Regions from separate parts of the Homo sapiens genome. Here regions 1, 2, 4, 5, 6 and 7 are each linked to region 3. The links are contacts of gene promoters, found by promoter capture Hi-C in blood cells and fetal thymus (Javierre and others, 2016). All regions are on one chromosome and are shown on one strand. Each heading gives the region's core, a stretch centred on a gene start or on the middle of the fragment in contact. The rest is flanking DNA. Distances are from core to core; before and after follow the strand shown. Region 1 overlaps LOC105370112 (a long non-coding RNA gene). Region 2 has its middle 130 kb from the start of LINC00621. Region 3 holds the start of MICU2 (mitochondrial calcium uptake 2). Region 4 has its middle 160 kb from the start of LINC00621. Region 5 holds the start of GJB2 (gap junction protein beta 2). Region 6 has its middle 110 kb from the start of LINC00621. Region 7 overlaps LOC124903134 (a long non-coding RNA gene).

Region 1 (2,700 bases), core at 15-2,514, 1.5 Mb after region 3:
TTGCCTCTCTCTCCTCATGTCCCCAAACTCTAAATATTGGCGTTCACCAGTGACCTCTGGCTTAGGCTTTCAGCCTCTTCTCTCTCTAACTTCAGTCCATCACTTATTGATCCAATCCAGTGTCATGGCTTAAAACATCCATATTTATATCTCTGCCTCTCCTTTCAATTCCTGACTCATCTATCTAACTACTTACTTGACACTTCTGCATTGACTCAATGTCCAAAAACCAAACTCCTCATCTGTCCCCTTAAACTTGCTTTTCCAGACATCCATTTGTTTGGGGGCCAAAATATGCAATTCTCCTTAGCTCTGCTCTTTTTCTCTTACCCTACGTCCAACCCATCACCAGACTGCACCAACTGTAAAAAGTAGCCTTAACTGCTGTCTCCTCCACAATGACCACCACTTCTGCCCAAGCCACTGTCCCCTCCCACCTGGACCATTGCAATAAACGTCTGTCACCCTACTCCTATCGTTGCACTCTTTTCCCTACAAGGCAGTCTGAATGCCATTTTTAAAAATTAAGCTAGATTATACCAGCTTATCAGTATCTGTATACATCAGCTAGAGGTGCCATAACAAAATACCACAGCCTAGGTGGCTTAAACAAGTAAAACGTTGCCTCACAGTTCTGAAGGCTGAAAGTCCAATGTCAAGGTGCCAGCAGGTTCAGTTTCTCTCGAGGCCTGTCTCCTTAGCTTGCAGGTGGCCACCTTCTCCCTGTGTCCTCACATGGTCTCCTCTGAGCACGTGAATCCCTGTGATCTCTCACATGTCTCAATCTCTTCTAATAAGGGCTCCAGTCCCATTGGAATAGGGCTCCAATCATAGAACCTCATTTAACTTTAATTATCTCTCCAAAGGCTTGACCTCCAAATGCATTCACTCTGGGGGCTAGAGCTTCCACATACAAATTTGGAAGGAATGTAATCCAGTCCATGAGGTATCATTCCATGGTTTTCCATCTCACTCAGAAACAAGCCAATGTCTTTTCAGTGGCTAGCAAAGTGTTGCGTGATTGAGACGTCCACGTCTCCACTCACTTCCTGGATACTGCAGTCAAGCAAACTGACCTCTTGCTGTTCCTGGAACTAACAGGAATTCTTCTATATTTGTTATTCTCTCTCCTCAGAAATTGTCTTTCCCTCACTCTCACCCACCCCTCAGGTCTTTACTCAAATGCCGCTTCTCCACGGAACCTTCCTACCTAATTTTCAGTTGTAATTCCTGGCACCATCCTCACACCATAACACCTTTTCCTGTTTTATTTTCCAGCAAGACACCTGTCACCCTCTCTCTCAATATTGACATGACATATATTTTACCTGTGTATGTGTTTATTGTCTGTCGCTGAGCTTCATGGTGGCTGAGGTTTTTGTTTTGTTCAGTGCTGTTCGCCATCATCTGAAACAGCAACAAATATTCTATCAAGGTGACAGAAATTCATGACTATTTTCAAGGGTATACTGCTGATAGGAATTATTAACTATCTCTGAAATTTATTTGGTCTTGGCCAATAAGTGACCTCCACTTTCCCCTACTTATTAATAAACTTTTACTTGTTCTTAGACATCTCTCTGGCTGCTGACTTTGCACAACTACTCAAAACCATTATTATTTCTTGCTTCTTTGCTTGTATACTTAGAACATGCTGAAATCAGCACATACAAATTCATAAATTCAGACCTCAAGGGCTTTTCTATGAAAGTCCGTGGGTTATTGAGGTGTTAAAATAAACAAAAGTACTGTAAACAGAAAATTTAAAGATGAGAATGTTTATCAAATGCCTACCATGCACCAGGCAATTGATAAACAATTTCATTGAACCTTTACAACAAGCCAATATGTTATTAGGGTTGTTTATATTAAGTCTATTATCTCTTCTTACACTCAAGAGTCTATGTTATTCCTTTAATTTAATAAAATTACATTTTTTCAGAGTGTGCAATGTTAATTTACAACCCTCAAAAATTTTATATAACAAGCAGTTTATCGTCCCAAGTAAGCTACCATTCTCTTGTCTGTACACATATCTGCCTTTTCTCACATAGGTACCCTAGGAATCAATCTTGGTCTGAGAGACTGCATATTAACAGGAGGCCAGGAAGGCAAGAACAGGGGTGTGCCATCATCTAGTCACCTCTGGAGCAGAGCTTTGCAAAGAGCATTCCTCAGGAAGATTCCTCAGAGGTCCTCTACAATTCTCCAAAACCAGCATAATGTAGTTAGTAAGAATATGGATTCCTGAAGTCATATCCCAGCTCTCTCACTCACTTCTCTGTAAAATGAGGACAATGATGATGATAATGATGATGATTAGTACTCCTAGAGGTATGATGAGGATAAAATAAAATAATACATGAAAACAATTTTGAATTGCGCTCAGCACCTGTAAAAGCATTCAAAGGAAGTGATTATGCTACATGTTACTTTTTTATTTGTATAAAAGTACCACAAATGTATTTTATCCAGATGATAAACATTTAGTTGATTTCCAATTTTTCACTTTAATAAACAATGTCAAGCTAAACATTCTCATGCATGTTTCCATTACTCCAGGGCATATGCAAAGAACAGCAATTGCTGAGTGTGAACAAATGTTCATCTTCATTTTGTCTGGATATTCCAAACTTGTTCTCTAACGTGTCTGGACCAAGTTCTGTTTCCCCCAGCAGTGTATGACACCCTCACCATCAT
Region 2 (2,700 bases), core at 15-2,514, 1.2 Mb after region 3:
ATAAGAAAAGGCAAAAGAATACATAAACAAAATCTTGGAATTATTGAATCTGGGTGATGGAATTATACTGGATCTTTCTTTATAGCTTTTTTATTACAAAAAGAAAATAAGTGATAATTATAAATACCAAAAATCAAGATACTTTGAATAGTGGAACAAACAGCTGGAAAACTTTGAGATAGCTTACTGCTGGAACACGTGCTAAATAAATAACAAGCAGTTTTGTTCTTGGTTCTTTGTTACTTGCAGTTGAACACGTTAAAACCAATACCCCTAATTCTACTACACTTTATGTTATTTTTATTATTTATTTATTTATTATTATTTTTTTTTTTTGAGATGGAGTCTCGCTCTGTCGCCCAGGCTGGAGTGCAGTGGCGCGATCTCAGCTCACTGCAAACACTTTATGCTACTATGAATACAATTTTGAATTTATATTTAAACCCATTGACAAAAGTACAGATTTTCTCATAGTTTTAAGAGCTGACTATAATATGAAGCCTTAAGATTGACAGAGCATTTTTCCTTTTAAACTATAGTGCTCTTCAAAAAGGTTTATAAATTAGTCTATGTAACTAGATCATTCAAAAGAGTAATTAAGCTTTTTACACATATACAATAAGATTTGCAAGAAGGGCAAATAGACAACAAAATCTGTGTATATAGAAATAATCAGTTTAAGGAAGTAAAATAAATATATATGTAAATAAATATTTGTAGTTGGTGTGGGTTTCAGCTGAGAGACGGCAGCTCACTCACACCTGACAGACCATAATCTATTTTCAAAGTAGGGGGATAATCAGAACAGAAAGAAATGTAAGTGTCAGTTAACTCAAGTAAAGTCATGTCCTGCTTCTCACTAAATGCTCACAATATAAGCTACATACAATAAAATTATAAAGAGATATAAATATGAGTCTCTACTAAAATTGTACTTTAGCAAACAGCTAACAGCATGCTTCATTCATGTCATCTTTAAGTAAATATATGTAGTGCCCACAAACCAAACTTTCTTTTCTTCAATAATCATGAAAAATATAATACCAGCAAGTTTGGTCATAATTTTCTATGGGTAAAAATCACTAGATATTTAACTATACTTAGTGGCAAAAATCACATGGTATCTTAGCAGGTTTTCTCTCCAAGAGGTTTTATTTGATGTTTGACTTAAAGGTTATGTAGTGCCATGAAAGGGCACATAGCCTATCTTTTCTTTTTTCTAAGTTTCATCTACCACCACTTAGTGGATAGATATTTCTTGAGTACCTTCACTTAGAATTCTATCTGAGGCTTTTAACAATATCAATAGTCATTTTGCCCATGTGTGTAGAAGATCTGTGGTTGCTCGGGGGTTTTGTTTTTATAACACACTAAAGTAAATCAGAAGTGAAAGCACTTCTCTCTGAGATTATTTTTAAATCTAAACAAATAAATAAACTCAAGGGAATTTAATTTTGATAAAATAGGACTCCAGGAAAATCTGTCTCATGGCCTTTCTGAATGAAGAAAATGGAAATAAAATGTAAATGTGATTTTGGAGATGTGTCTTCCACAAAACAAGTGTTGACAAGATAATCTCTCCATTTGTTCCAGGTCCTCTAATTCTAGCACTCTATAAGCATAAAAATAATCTAATTAAGTTTAATGCTTTGAAATATTTCCTTTATTGCAAATCAGTACCCAGATGAAGAATAAGATGAAACCACACTTACATGACTCTAAATACCTGAGATTTCTGAGTAAGGTGGGGAACAAAGATCTGTTTCTCTAACTAAAGGATGATTAGATTAATTTTTCCCTCCATTAGCAGCCCTATATCTTTCTCCATCCTCTCTCACTTGTTACTCAACTATTTGAGCTTCTCTATCACTAAACTTATAACGTATTCCCTGCCTGGGCTTCAAAGCGATATTCACATTAACAGATAAAAAGCTTCATGCACTGTCTGAGCTAAGACTGCCACAGTAAACTCTGAAATGATGACATGAGAGCATGATAAATATCCTGACACAAAAAAGCTATTTTTCAGGGGAGGCCACTACCCCATAAGCAAACCTTTGTTGCTCTATCTGTGAACTCAAGGATCTGTCCTCCCATTGAAAGGCCCCAGAGTCGACAGGCTGAGTACTCCAAGTCGCTGACACCAGGGGACAGAACAAAGAATCTGTCCAAGTCTTGATCTCCTTAGCTCAGCGCAGGCCAAGTTCAGCTCAGCGATCTATCAAAGTGCTGGAATGTGCAGCAAGTAAATACCCACATTCTGCCAAGGGAGAAGAAAAGCTGGACCATTGACTACTGTTCTGGGACAAAGCAAATTCTCCCACATCAAAAGAGCACAAGCAGCCCTCATCCAGGTCTACACTGTATAATGGGTAGATTTTCGGCGAGTGTGCAAAAGATAAATGGTGCTTTTATCTCACATTCCCCCACCCCCCTTGCAATGAGAGTTTATGTTAGAGCCACTTAACTGCGTGGAGTGCAGCTTGGTGGATTACCTGTTTGTATGACTCAGTACCTGACCTGATCCTGTGGCGAGAGGAGACGGGGGAGGATGAGAGTTTTGTAAAATCAGTTTTGCTTTGAAGGGATCTTCAGCAATTTCTGAAGCCTCACAAAGACCTCTATACATACTGGCCCTTATAAGGAGAAAGGATTAGAAGGGAACAATGCACCCAGTAGAGAAGTTCGTCTTGTATTTCT
Region 3 (2,700 bases), core at 154-2,653:
TGTTGTATCTGAATGTTCCTTGAGTTTTTCGCTAGAAAGGCATAATGTAAATCTAAAAAAGAAAATAATAAACTACTACTTTCAATTTTCAAAAAAGCTCATATGTAAAAACTTACTAAGTCTACAAAAATTTTAAAGCACTACTCATTCAAATTTTCAAATGCGTTACAACATCATTTATCCTGAAATAGGGAACTTGAATCTTTTTTTTTTTTTTTTGAGACGGAGTTTCGCTCTTGTAGCTCAGGCTGGAGTGCAATGGCTCGATCTTGGCTCACTGCAACCTCCGCCTCCCGGATTCAAGCGGTTCTCCTACTTCAGCCTCCCGCCACCACACCCAGCTAATTGTTTATATTTTTTAGTAGAGACCGGGGGGGCGGGGCTGGGGTGGGGAGCGGCTTCACCATGTTGGCCAGGCTGGTCTCGAACTCCTGACCTCAGGAGATCCACCCGCCTCGGCCTCCCAAAGCCCTGGGATTAAAGGCGTGTGCCACCGCGCCCGGCGGACTCTTGTCTTTAATAGATGGAGGTTTTAGGAGCAATTTTTGCTTAGAACTTATGGTCCACTAAGATATTAAGGTTTATAATCATGCAATAATGTTCCTTAAAGTTGATAATAAAATCTGGAAATCAACTGGTTAATTTTTGTGGCTGACACATTCGTGACTTAAAAAAGCAATCGACAGAACTTCATCATGCTATACAAAGAAAAGATCGTAAAACTTAGTTGCAAAGCTTAACAAAGGTATATCCCACAGGGGTAACTGGACGCAAACCACCTGCGGATGTGAATGCCACTTCACTGACCAGAGAGGTAGCAAGAGGCGAGGCGCAGTGAGATTCTGAATTAGGAGCCTCGAATTAAGACACGCCCACACTCATCACCACTAAATTAGTGCGGCCAGTTTTGTGGGCCGTGGTGTTCAGCGTCCGCGGGGTTCTCCCAAGGGAGGCAGAATCTCCGGTCACCAGCCTCGAAGGCCCTCGGGGACTCAGGCCGGGGGCCGGTCCAGGAAGGAGCGAGTCCCACCAGTCGCAGGGCGCTCCGATCCGCAGCGGCACCTCCACCCACGGCTCCGGGAGAGCCGCCCAGAGCCAAACCACTCCCCGCCTAAGGGCGTCAGGGGAGGGAGGAGCTTGACTGGGGCTAGCAGAAGGAGTTAGTCCTGTACCTGTGCGGAGACTGTAAAACTGCCATCCCGCGCCGCAACACTGACGCGGCTGTGGTGCCAGGCCGCTCCTGCTCCTGCCAGGGCCGCGCCGGCCACTGCCGCTGCCAAGGGGCCGGGACTCCGCACAGCCTGTCGGCTGACAGCGAGCCCCCGTCGCAGTTTTCCGCCCCAGGCCGCCACCCGCGCGCAGCTACCCGCAGCCGCCGCCATCTTTGCGGAAGCGCAGCTAGGCGGCGCTTCTCTCCCGGCGCCGCCGCCTACCGCTTGGGAACTCTCGCGACATCCGACAGGCTTCCGCCCCGCCTACCGGGCCTGCGCCGTGGGTGCGGTTGCTGAGGCGACGCTCGCAGCCGCAAGAGGTGGCCTTCGGTTCCGGGGCTGCCTTCTAAGGCTGTGGGGATGGGATGACAGGAAGAGTATCAAGACAGTATAATATGACTTCCTAGTCCAAAACAAGATAGTGCCCTCGGTTGTGTGGGCAGGTTTCTCCTTTTCATTTTTTCACCTTGTAAAACTGTGAAACGTTTTTTGAAATAGTCTCTTCTGCATCTGTGTTGTTCATGTCTTCCTATGCTTATAGTCTTGACTGTTCTTTCATTTCTGCTAAAACAACTCTCAGACAAGGCATTCTGTTTATTTCAGTCCCTCACTATTTGCTTATAATGAATTTAAATTCAGTTTCAACAAAAGGTTTGATAGTAGCTCTTATCCTACCTAGAACTAAAAGTCAGAGACAGCAGCACACCAGCCCCATGTCTCTATCATCAGGGACCCAGAGGTTTTCCCCAGTGCAGATTTAGAACGATACCTCCAGTCCTGGCTGTTGCATTGGTGATAAGTGATGTAGCTGAGGCAGACTACTTGGTTTTATTTAACAGCCTCCAATCCTCCATTCTTTGGTCTTCACTTTTCCTGAGTAACTCTTTTTAATAAACTCTTTGTTCAGCCTCTGAAATGTCCCCAGCTATTAGAAGCTTTAGTTGGGCATGCAGTAACGGAGCCAACATCAAAGGGGCCAAGACTCCTAATCACATAATCACTGCTGTCTTGAAGTTTTGCACAAAACAAAACTTCAAGAAACAAAAACAAAAACCTGTCACACGAAATCTAATTTGATCATTCAGTGGAAGTTCCGTGGATCCCTTTGTTATTATCTGCCCTTAATCCTTGCTCCCTTTCTCTTAGCCCGCTTGTCTAAATTAATCTGCAGTCAGAGGTTCCTCACTTTTCCGTCAGCTTCTGGACTTACTTTTCAGTGTGCCTTCCCAGGTAGGAAGTAGAGAGATGAGCCTCACTTCACCGACTTGTGAGCCAGACCTCAAGGTTTGAATCTTAGCTCTACCAGGATGATCACTGTGGTTTGGGGCAAATTATTTAATCTCTCTGAGTCTCCATTTTCTCATTTGTAAATAACTCACGATTTGGTAGATGATCACTGCTATTTGGGGTAAGGTATTTAATCTCTTTGAGTCTCAATTTTTTCATCTGTGAACAACCCTCTTACAGTTTGGGGTGGGGAAGCTAAATG
Region 4 (2,700 bases), core at 10-2,509, 1.2 Mb after region 3:
ATTTACACCTTATATTCAAGGGAAAAAAACTTCCCAAATATTAAAAAAACACTAAAAGTTCCATGGCAAAAAATAATTTAAAGTGATAAGAAACACGTAACACTTTATCAATAATGAGTGTGCATTTCTTTACCTCATTTATGTTTCAGAGTTTCTAAGAATATGGTATTTTTTCCACGGGAAAGCATATATTAAGGTAAGCTAACCTTTCATTTTAAACCTAAACACATTCAGAATGCTTTGCAATCTTATTTTGCCTTACAATGTTATTTTTCCAATGTTGAATTGGAGTTCATGGTTCTCTTTGTTTTATCCAATAAAATGTTATCCAATAATATTTATGCAATAGTCTAGATATCTACTATATTTTATGTAATAGTTCATATGTCCATGCAAATTGAATCATTTCAAAAATATAGAATGATGTATGAAAAATTATGGCTAACACTTAGAAATCTACGAAGCCTCTATAAAATTAAACAGTTTCCTCACTTTAACTTTCTACTTTCCTTTCCTACCCACAACTTTGGTCAGTTTCTTAAATTGGAGCATACAAGTATATTAAAAAAAAAAAAAATTCCACAAAGCTATTGTTGTGAATAGCAAAACCCAAAGCTAACCAGCGTGAGCATAAGAAGGAGAGGCTTTGTGAGGAATTTATGCACAACTGGAGGAGGAGTTGAATAACAAAGCTGGGAAGGGGAGTGGTAGGCCTGTGTTCTCGGGTACCTGGTTTCCGTGCTGCAGTCCAGATGTGAGTCCTAGGGTCTTCTGGGTCAATCAGGTGTCATCTGTAGAAGCTGTAGTTGGACTTGCTTAAACTCAGGGGCCAGGGCAGTGTTAGTCACATACGTTCACCAACATCAAAGACAATGTGCAAACTACTAAGTGTCAACTACATCTAGTTGGTGTAGATCTAGACAAAGCAAAAGACAGGTCTAGAAGGTAGTGGTGCTAGTTGTGGTAGAGTATCACTTTCAATCCTAGCTGTAAAGATTCGTTACTAAAGTGATCCAAATGTAAATTGTGTTATTAACCAGATAATTGAACATTTCTAGCCCCACAGATTTAGGTCAAACATGATATTTATCGATTTTAGATGCAAATTGTGTACTGTAAGGACAATTATAAATTTCTCAATATGAATGTGGTCTTCTTTCTTGCGGAAGTAACTAGCTAAACTAAATGAAGGCATAGATCATAAAGCACGTCACCTCCCACTAGGTGTTAAAGTAGATGAGAAGAAATCTGAGAATATTTCGGATGAAAAGACTTTTTTACAGCAGGAAATAAAGGTATTAGCTGTTGCCATGAGTAAGTCGGTGGGTAACAGTGGATCACTATGGCCATGAGAGTAAAATCATTTGCAGACAGAGGACCAATATACATCTGTGGGAAGTGGTAAATTCCAAGGATGTACAGGTAATACATTGGCATGTGTGCCCTTCTTAAGTCTTTTTTATATCCTGACATCAATTTCTCAGTAACAAAGTAATTAGACCTATCCTTTATTGAGCATTAATTCCATGTCAGTCCTGTATCTGCTTTACATGCAGTTACATATTTAAGGTTCACAACAACCCTGTGAGGTATTATTATTGTATCTTTTTCTTACAGACTAGGAAACCAAGACATGGAAGAGTTAAGTAATCTACTCAAGATCACACATCTAAGAATGATTTAATCAGCCGGGTGCAGTGGCTCACCCCTGTCATCCCAGCACTTTGGGAGGCCGAGGCGGGCGGATCATGAGGTCAGGAGATCGAGACCATCCTGGCCAACATGGCGAAAACTCATCTCTACTAAAACAAAATTAGCCAGGTGTGGTGGTGGGCCCCTGTAGTCCCAGCTACTCGGGAGGCTGAGGCAGGAGAATGGCATGAACCCGGGAGGCAGAGCTTGCAGTGAGCCAAGATCGGGCCACTGCACTCCAGCCTGGGCAACAGAGCAAAACTCTGTCCCAAAAAAAAAAAAAAAAAAGGAAAGATTTCAAATCACAATCCAACTTTACAACTTAAAAAATTAGCAAAAGAACAAACTAAATCCAAAGCTAGCAGAAGGAAGGAAATAATTAATATCAGAGCAGAGATAAATGAAATAGAGAATAGAAAAAAAATCAGTGAAACTAAAAAGGTCTTTGAAAAGATAAAATTAACAAGCCTTTAGCTAAATGAACTAAGAAAAAAAGAAAGAAGACAAATTACTAAATTCAGAAAGGGAAGTGGGGACATTATTACTAATTCTACATAAATAAAAATTGCATTTTTTGGCAGGGCGCGGTGGCTCATGCCTGTAATCCCAGCACTTTGGGAGGCCGAAAGTGGGGATCACGAGGTTATGAGATCGAGACAATCCTGGCCAACATGGTGAAACCCCATGTCTACTAAAAAATGGTAGTGGTGGCGGGCGCCTGTAGTCCTAGCTACTTGGGAGGCTGAGCCTGGAGAATTGCTTGAACTGGGGAGGCAGAGGTTGCAATGAGCCGAGATCATGCCACTGCACTCCAGCGTGGCGACAGAGCAAGACTCCGTCTCAAAAAAAAAAAAAATGCATTTTGTGCCCTAAAAATCAACAGTCTGAAAATTAAATTACAGGAACAATTTCTTTTACAGTAGCTTCAAAAATAATAAAATACTGAGGAATTAATTTAACCAAGGAGGTGAAAGATTAAGTGTACAATAAAAACTAAAAAACATTGCT
Region 5 (2,700 bases), core at 201-2,700, 1.4 Mb before region 3:
CACATTATTTTAAAATGACAGAAAATTCAACTCCCTCGGTTACTGGCCCAGCTAAGCGACGTCACTGCATTGCAGTTCAGCGCTGAAGCTTGGGAGAGTCCCACACTCCTTACTGCAAGCGGATGTGGAGAGGCCAGTGGATAATCTCCTGTGAGCCCATGGCCTTCTTTTCATCCCAGGATGTGAATTGTCTTCACTGATTCATAGTTACACCCTGCCTGCCACAACCAACGCTCTCCTAAACAAGATTCCACCCTCTCCACAATCCGGATGAATCATCTCTTTTCCACCCTTCAGAGCTGGTAGTGAATCCTCCTTCTTCTTTTTCTTAAAAGCATCCTCCTCTCCTCATTTTAGGCAAGTTGCATCCCGTTTTCTGATGGACTCCAGAAGCAGGCTCGTAGTGAATGTCTTTCATGACCCACAGTCGCTGCCACGGGGCACCAAGGTCAGGCAGAAACCATCCAGTGCCACCTTGGTCAGAGGCTAACAGGAGAGAGGTGGCCACGAAAGTTACATCAGATTGACATAGGCCTGTGAAACATTTAGCTTCACTGAGCTTGGGAAAGACAACATCATTGGAAAAAACAATATTTTAGCCCAGGTTCAGCACTGACCCATTGATAATCCAGACTGGGAGGCCCTTAGGTGAGCTGGTTGTCCTGCTACAGCACCCACAGCTCAGGCCAGTCCCGTCCCAACAGCAGAACCACCGAGGACAGCAACATTCCGATTTTAACAAAAGCATCTTATGGAATTAGACATTCTTCATTGGCCCTCACTGAGTGGAAAACAGGATACTCCCCGAAGTAAACTCTCTCCTGGTTTACAACAATACACCTGGCCAAGAATATGGGGCTGCAGGAGGAGGGGTTTATCCTTTGCCCTCTTCCACCTGCCAAACCCAGGTCATACACCCTTCTACAGACCTGTCCAGTTACCATCAGCTGAGAAAAATACAGTTCCGAGAAACCCTATATTGTTATTTTATAAAGCTTGAGTTGAAGCTACCTGTTTTAAAGATCCTTTTTCAGGAAGAGGAGTAAATTAAGATTTACTCCCCAATGGGCTAGGGGGTCATGGGTTAAGAGGGGCTCAGAAGCAGGACGAAGTTGTTTTCAATATTCAAGTCAGAGGAGGAGCTGCCCTCCTGGCCTCCCGACCCTGGGCGGTTACATGCAGCTTCCTACCGGGCCCACGCCATCCTGCACCGCCTGGAGGGCTGCCAGAGGCCAGCGGAGGAGTTGGTTCAGTTCCTTAGGGAAGACACTAGGTGAATCACCAGGATCCAGAAAAGGCAAAAGGGACTCTTCACCCCTTAAATTTCTCCACCCTTAGGTGATGGGTGGTCGACCTTGCCTGGCTGTCCCCAGAGGGTTCCTCCACCCTTCTCACCAGTGTCTGAAATTGTGACCGACTGTGCACAGCAGTTTCGAAAGGGACTCTAAGGTCACATGGGGACACGGCCGTACCACGCTTCTCAAGGCAGTCCCAGGTGCATGGCCACGGAACCCAGCTCTCAGCAGCTGTTAGTTAGGTGAGCGCTGTTCGGGCTGCCTTCCTCCTCCAGTGGGGCAGGATCGAGGCACTGATGGAACCGTCCTGAGGACGCGGGTCTCAGCCGCACACCACCTCTTCGCGAACAAGGGTCCTAAAAATTTTCCTTCTAGGCGGGGAGCACAGCCCGGAAACAGACCCTCGTGAAGTGTTTAGGAAAAAGGGAAGCCACTGAAATCTTGGCCCCGGGGTAGGCCGGGATCGGCTGGCTCCGCGTTAGTTCTAGGCAAACTCCGCCCAAATCTCTGCCCGGGGATTTTTCTGCAGAAGCCGCTCCAAGAGGTAAAGGTCAGTTCCTGCAGCGAAGGCTTCCTGCTTCACCGGCGAAACGGAGCTTTGCTTCGAAGCTAAGCTTTCGGTGAATTTAAAACGTTTGGTGGCAGTGGGTCAAGTAGCCAGGCGGCTGCGCTAGAGTACCCCGAAGGGACATCGGCGACACCACAAACCTCGCGCTGGCGGCTCGCCCGCGCCTTTTTCCCCTCCCGCGCGCGCCCGGCCCCACTCGCACCCCGGGCGGTGCCATCGCGTCCACTTCCCCGGCCGCCCCATTCCAGCTCCGGAGCTCGGCCGCAGAAACGCCCGCTCCAGAAGGCGGCCCCCGCCCCCCGGCCCAAGGACGTGTGTTGGTCCAGCCCCCCGGTTCCCCGAGACCCACGCGGCCGGGCAACCGCTCTGGGTCTCGCGGTCCCTCCCCGCGCCAGGTTCCTGGCCGGGCAGTCCGGGGCCGGCGGGCTCACCTGCGTCGGGAGGAAGCGCGGCGGGGCCGGGGCGGGGGTCTCGGCGTTGGGGTCTCTGCGCTGGGGCTCCTGCGCTCCTAGGCGGGTCCTGGGCCGGGCGCCGCCGAGGGGCTCCGAGTCGGGGAGAGGAGCGCGCGGGCGCTGCGGGGCCGCAACACCTGTCTCCCGCCGTGGCGCCTTTTAACCGCACCCCACACCCCGCCTCTTCCCTCGGAGACTGGGAAAGTTACGGAGGGGGCGGCGCCGCGGGCGGAGCGCGCCCGGCCTCTGGGTCCTCAGAGCTTCCCGGGTCCGCGAACCCCCGACCGCCCCCGAAAGCCCCGAACCCCCCAAGTCCCCTTCGAGGTCCCGATCTCCTAGTTCCTTTGAGCCCCCATGAGTTCCCCAAGTGCCCCCAGCGCCCTGA
Region 6 (2,700 bases), core at 96-2,595, 1.2 Mb after region 3:
TCTCCTATTAACTTCAAGACTTTCAGAGGCTATGACGGGAAAAGAATTGACATGGCAAATTCAAAATTTCTTTTTGTATTCTGAAAGCAAAGTAAAGTCTTAGAGCTGACTCCTATCAATTACTTTTATTTCATCACATGAATAAATGAATAAGAATATAAAAAAATTAATGGAGAATAAACAAATATATAAATAAATGAGAATAAGATAATTGAAGATGCTGTGATCATGTGGCATTCCATTTGTTGTGGAGGGACACACACAGATGAGGAGTGGACAGTTTTAACTGGATGGGGACAGAGATGTCCAGGAAAGTGGTTTCATAAAGGAGATTTCAATTAAGCTCATTTTTCAGAAATAAATATTTTCAAAGAACACAAAGAGGAAAAGGAAATTACTAGCAAGTGATTGTTCAACTGCTTAATAAAAATTACAGTTCTGAAACAAACATATTTTGAGAAACTTTATGTAGTTCATTACGGTTGAAATACTGAGTCTGAAGCATCAGAAACAGGGCAAGAGACCCGTCAGAGGCAGACCAGGGCGCCTCCCAGCCAGGCCTTTTCCACAACATGAGAGAAGTGGGCTTCATCCTTCTGTCAGAGGGTTTGTGTTTATGAATGTTAGGCAAGAGGTAAATATGACCAGTGCTGTACCTTTTTTTTCTTTTTGAGAAAGGGCCTCACTCTGTTGCCCAGGCTGGAGTGCAGTGGCGCAATCTTGGCTCGCTGCAGCCTTGAACTCCCGGGCTCAAGCAATCCTCCTGCTTCAGTCTCCTGAGTAGAAAGGAGCACGCAGGTGGAAGAGTACACTGACAGACACCAGCAGGCCAGTAGGCCATCGATGGGTGGAACGAGGCAGAGTTTGCAGGGAGCAGTGGGAGAAGAGTCGAGGGAAAATCATCTCCCTTCTGGCTTCCCCCGTCTGCTGAGAGTGACTTCCGCTCAATAAAACCTTGCACTCATTCTCCAAGTCTATTTGTGATCTGATTCTTCAGGTACATCAAGACAAGAACCTCTGCCTCCCAGGTTCAAGCGATTCTCCTGCCTTAGCCTCCCGAGTAGCTGGGACTACAGGTGCCTGCCACCACACACGGCTAACTTTTTGTATTTTTTTTTAGTAGAGATGGGGTTTCACTGTGTTAGCCAGGATGGTCCCCATCTCCTGACCTCGTGATCCGCCCACCTCAGCCTCCCAAAGTGCTGGGATTACAGACGTGAGCCATCGTGCCTGGCCTAGGTTTTTTTTAGAATTTCCCAAGATGGTTTAAAATTTATATGGAAATGGAAATAATGTAGAATAGCCAATGTAATCTTGACAAAGAACAACATAGAGGAAGAGCTCCATAACATTGGTCTCAGCAACGATTTTTTGAAGACGACCTCAAAAGCACAGCAAAAGCAAAAATAGACAAATGGGGTTACATCAAACTGAAAAGATTTTCCACAGTCAGGGAAACAACTGCAGAGTAAACAGATAACCTACAAAATGGGGGAAAATATTGCAAATCATACATCTGATAAGTGGTTCTTATCTAAAATACATAAGGAACTCAAGTCAGCAAGGAAAGAAATACCCCAGTTAAAAAATGGGCAAAGGACCTGAATGCATATTTCCTGAAAGAAGACATACGAATGGCCAGTGGTTATATGAAAATATGCTCAACATCACTAATCATCAAGCAAATGTAAATTAAAACCATAATAGAATACCGCTTCACACCTGTTAGAATAGCTATTACCAAAAAGATGAGATAACAAGTGTTGGCGAGGATGCTGAGAAAAGGGTATCCTTGCACACTGTTGGTAGGAATGTAAGTTGATACAGCTGTTATGAAAAACCATATGGAGTTTCCTCAAAAAAATTAAAAACAGAACTACCATGTGATGCAGAAATCCCAACACTGATTATATAACCAAAGAAAATAGAATCAGTATGCCAAAAATATATGTGCACTGCATGTTCATTCCAGCATTATTCACAGTAGCCAAGGTATGGAAACAACATAAACAACATAAGTATCCATCAATGAATGCATGGATAAAGAAATGTGGAATATACACGCAACATAATGTTAGCCTTAAAAAAGAAGAAAATCCTGTCATTTGTGACAACATGGATAAAACTGAAAGACACTATGTTAAATGAAATAAGCCAGACACAAAAAAATACTGCTTGATCTCACTTCTATGTGGAATCTAAAAAAGCTGAACTCAGATGTAGAAAATAGAAGGAGATTAGCAAGGGTTGGGGTTTGGGGAGAGGTTGGGGTGATGCTGGTCAAAGGATACAAAATTTCAGTTAGGAAGAATAAGGTCAAGAGACCTATTGTACAAGATTGTGACTATAGTCAATATTGTGTTGTATTTTTTAAAATTACTAAGAATTGCTAGATTTTAAGTGTCCTCACCACAAAATAAAATGTGAGGTAATGCACATGTTAATTAGCTCAATTTAGCCATTCAAAAATGTGTGTATATATATATATATATTTCAAAACATCATGTTGTACATAATTATATACAATTTTGTCAATTAAAAATAAATAAGTAAATAAGAAATGTGTACCAAAAAACAGGAAGAAAGAACAAAGGGTGTACACTATCTGATTTCAAGACATACTATAAAGCTACCCTAGTCAGGACAGTGTGACACTGGAATAAAGATGGACAAGTATAGTTCAATGGAGCAGAATATACA
Region 7 (2,700 bases), core at 5-2,504, 1.5 Mb after region 3:
ATAATATTTCAATGAAACTTCAAAATCTGTTGCTCTACAACAAATCATTTAACAGATCACCTGGAATTGGTATTAAGAAATTAGAGTAAAAAATTGACGTGAAAACTTTGAAAATTAAAATGTTAAATAAAGCCAAAAGTTACTATGGCCATGGAATAAATTTCAAAGACAAATGGGCAAAGTTCGTTACACAAAATAACTGAGTTGAACAAAATAGAAAAGGAAGTGGCCACACAGACATTGCATGAAAACATTATTATTATTATTATTATTATTTTTATTTTTATTTTTTGAGACAGAGTTTCGCTCTTGTTGCCCAGGCTGGAGTGCAATGGTGTGATCTTGGCTCACTGTAACCTCTGCCTCCCGGGTTCAAGTGATTCTCCTGCCTCAGCCTGCCGAGTAGCTGGGATTATTACAGGTGCCTGCCACCATGTCCAGCTAATTTTTTGTATTTTTAGCAGAGACGGGGTTTCACTATGTTGGCCAGGCTGGTTGCGAACTCCTGATCTCAGGTGATCCAACTGCCTCGGCCTCCCAAAGTGCTGGGATACAGGCGTGAGCCACCGTGCCCGGCCAAAGACATTGATTATTAATGGTGGACTATTGGAACTCTAAAATAAATTTTCACTGCACTGCTCATTAGTTTCATTATTTATAGCAAAGAGAAATGCTTTGAAATAATTCAAGTTTAGCTATAAAAATTAAGACGTGAAGACTATCTGAAACATCTATCATATTTGATAGCTACAGGAATATTTTGAAGCATTCTTATTTATTATCTAATATATTTGTTGCACTATTAAAATACGACAGAAATAGTATTTAACTTGAAACACGGTCCTATGCCCATGAATTATGATTTATAATATCATAGGTAGAGTTAACAAGAAAATCACGCAGAATCTGTACATAAAAGGCCATGAATCAATTAGAGAACTGTTATTTCTGAGTCAGTACCAAGTGACCCATAAACTTAAGGAAGCCTGTCTCAGCTTAAAAACCAGTGTCCTAGAAAAAACCAGAATGTGTAACTGTTGGAAACAGAAGCGTCATGCTACATGAGTTGAGCTAATTCAATGATAAAACAAATAAAGCTTTTTGTTTTGAAATAATGTAAAACTGGCTGATTTTTGAAGACAGAAAATAAAAGCAAGGAAAATCGAAGAATACAAGCTGGATACTGACCTGTGTGGTAGACTGCACTATTGTTCTGAACCGGTCATCATTCTCCCTTACTTTTAGTTTCTAAATAATTTAGAGGATTATACAAGCCCATCTGCAGACAAGTGAACTGCAGCATCTTGTGAAGGATAAGCATATACATCCAGGCTCTGTTGATACCAGGTATGGGTAGGCGACTTGCCTTGGTGTAGGAGTATACTTGTGTTAACATATGCCAGGTGGAACAGAAGCTTTAAGATCTATTGTGTGTTTCCACCAGCTCCCTTGATTTTTCCCAAATAAATCCAAAACTGTGATGCTTGGCACATCTCAAATAAGAGGTTCTCCTTTAACCTAGGTCCTGGAATGAGAAAAAATATGAAACAGAGCAGCAGAGAAGCCAAACTGCAATGGTTGACATATAACATGACAGAAAACTAAATATTTCTGAACTCACTGCCTTACAAAACATAATCATGCTATTAAAACTCACTGCTAATATTTTCAGGATGTGTCCTGTCATCCTCACCAGCCACTTTTTCAAACCATGCGTCTGACAATTATTGTGAAATCAAAGTCTGCTTTTTATGTAACTCAAACTTCTGCTTTTGAGATTTTAATATATACGCATAGGTTTCAGTCAGAGAGATGAGTCATGAATACTCAGATCCAAATATATATAGCTCAAAAATAAACTGGCTACAACTTGTAAGGAGATTTAAATCCCCCTTTGCCATGCATTAACTATCAGCAGCTATTTCTTGGACAGCCTTCAGGGCTGCACACTCATGCTTCCAAAGAAAACCGTCTGTTGCAGTCACTGTGATGCGTCTACCCATCCGTCTCAGCCTGCTGTTAACCATGTCACAGACCTGCCTCTGATTCTCCCACAACTTCTGACCCCAGGTAGTGGGGAGCTACTCCCCGATTTTGTGTTACTTAGTTACCCAGGCCCAGAAACAGTTCTCCTTGAGTCTAAAGGCTCATAAAGTCTCTATTGAATAGTTTCATCAGGTTTTGTCTTGAGGAACTTTTTGACACGGAAACAGAAAAGTTCCCTTGTCCTCCTCGCAGGGCGGATGATAGGGGTGTGGCTCGCTTCTTCAGTGCCCCGCTGCCCAAACCGCTAGGGGAGCATACAGATGGGCAGGCTGTGGAGCTCCCACCCTAAGTCAGTGTCTAGGGGTGAATGTTTACAACTCCTGAAGCCCCAGTGGGCATGCTACAGGGTGCTCTTTTAGTTTAGCCATCTGTAGGCAGCTTGTGTTGGTCAGCTCAAGTAGACCCCTGCCTTATCACAAGGACAGAGATATTTCTGTATCCCAGGTTCTTGCCTTGGTGTACCAGAATCGGATCACACGTGGGCTTGGAGAATGAGTGTAACGTTTTATTGAGTAGAAGTAGCTCTCAGCAGATAAGGGAGCCAGAAGGAAGATAGTTTTCCGCTGGAGTTGGGCCACTCTGCATCCTGGGCTCTCCTCGGCTGCCCCAGCCAAACTCCGCATGGTTCTGCTTCTGTCCATCAGTGTGACCTGC

What was found. The method cuts DNA at HindIII sites, captures the fragments that hold promoters and counts their contacts. A CHiCAGO score of 5 or more calls a contact.
Region 1: a contact is called between a fragment that was not itself captured here and the fragment with the promoter of MICU2 in region 3, in 1 of 17 cell types (M2 macrophages). The highest score is 6.6, in M2 macrophages.
Region 2: a contact is called between a fragment that was not itself captured here and the fragment with the promoter of MICU2 in region 3, in 3 of 17 cell types (M1 macrophages, M0 macrophages and endothelial precursors). The highest score is 7.2, in M1 macrophages.
Region 4: a fragment that was not itself captured here is called in contact with the fragment with the promoter of MICU2 in region 3 in 1 of 17 cell types (endothelial precursors); the score reaches 5.1 in endothelial precursors.
Region 5: a contact is called between a fragment that was not itself captured here and the fragment with the promoter of MICU2 in region 3, in 1 of 17 cell types (fetal thymus). The highest score is 6.2, in fetal thymus.
Region 6: a contact is called between a fragment that was not itself captured here and the fragment with the promoter of MICU2 in region 3, in 1 of 17 cell types (M1 macrophages). The highest score is 7.3, in M1 macrophages.
Region 7: a contact is called between a fragment that was not itself captured here and the fragment with the promoter of MICU2 in region 3, in 4 of 17 cell types (M0 macrophages, M1 macrophages, M2 macrophages and 1 more). The highest score is 16.1, in M0 macrophages.

The regions. Positions count from the first base shown.
Region 1 is chr13:23,115,862-23,118,561 of GRCh38, forward strand. It overlaps LOC105370112 (a long non-coding RNA gene), which reads right to left. Exons shown (of 4, transcript XR_001749786.1): 2 at 2,144-2,281; 3 at 1,329-1,407. Among named protein-coding and RNA genes, the nearest start is that of LINC00362, 54 kb to the right of the region's middle. The HindIII fragment of the contact is 4,100 bases long and covers 1-2,700 here.
Region 2 is chr13:22,787,011-22,789,710 of GRCh38, forward strand. No RefSeq gene overlaps it. Among named protein-coding and RNA genes, the nearest start is that of LINC00621, 130 kb to the right of the region's middle. The HindIII fragment of the contact is 1,331 bases long and covers 600-1,930 here.
Region 3 is chr13:21,602,767-21,605,466 of GRCh38, forward strand. It overlaps MICU2 (mitochondrial calcium uptake 2), which reads right to left and starts at 1,404. Exons shown (of 12, transcript NM_152726.3): 1 at 1,173-1,404. The coding sequence starts at 1,382. RefSeq lists enhancers at 498-1,117, 1,118-1,736, 1,518-1,587 and a silencer at 1,138-1,347. The HindIII fragment of the contact is 1,411 bases long and covers 734-2,144 here.
Region 4 is chr13:22,757,749-22,760,448 of GRCh38, forward strand. No RefSeq gene overlaps it. Among named protein-coding and RNA genes, the nearest start is that of LINC00621, 160 kb to the right of the region's middle. The HindIII fragment of the contact is 4,442 bases long and covers 1-2,700 here.
Region 5 is chr13:20,190,489-20,193,188 of GRCh38, forward strand. It overlaps GJB2 (gap junction protein beta 2), which reads right to left and starts at 2,450. Exons shown (of 2, transcript NM_004004.6): 1 at 2,295-2,450. The HindIII fragment of the contact is 914 bases long and covers 994-1,907 here.
Region 6 is chr13:22,805,175-22,807,874 of GRCh38, forward strand. No RefSeq gene overlaps it. Among named protein-coding and RNA genes, the nearest start is that of LINC00621, 110 kb to the right of the region's middle. The HindIII fragment of the contact is 3,428 bases long and covers 1-2,700 here.
Region 7 is chr13:23,145,196-23,147,895 of GRCh38, forward strand. LOC124903134 (a long non-coding RNA gene) reads right to left here. Exons shown (of 2, transcript XR_007063719.1): 2 at 2,531-2,700. Among named protein-coding and RNA genes, the nearest start is that of LINC00362, 24 kb to the right of the region's middle. RefSeq lists an enhancer at 2,424-2,593. The HindIII fragment of the contact is 318 bases long and covers 1,096-1,413 here.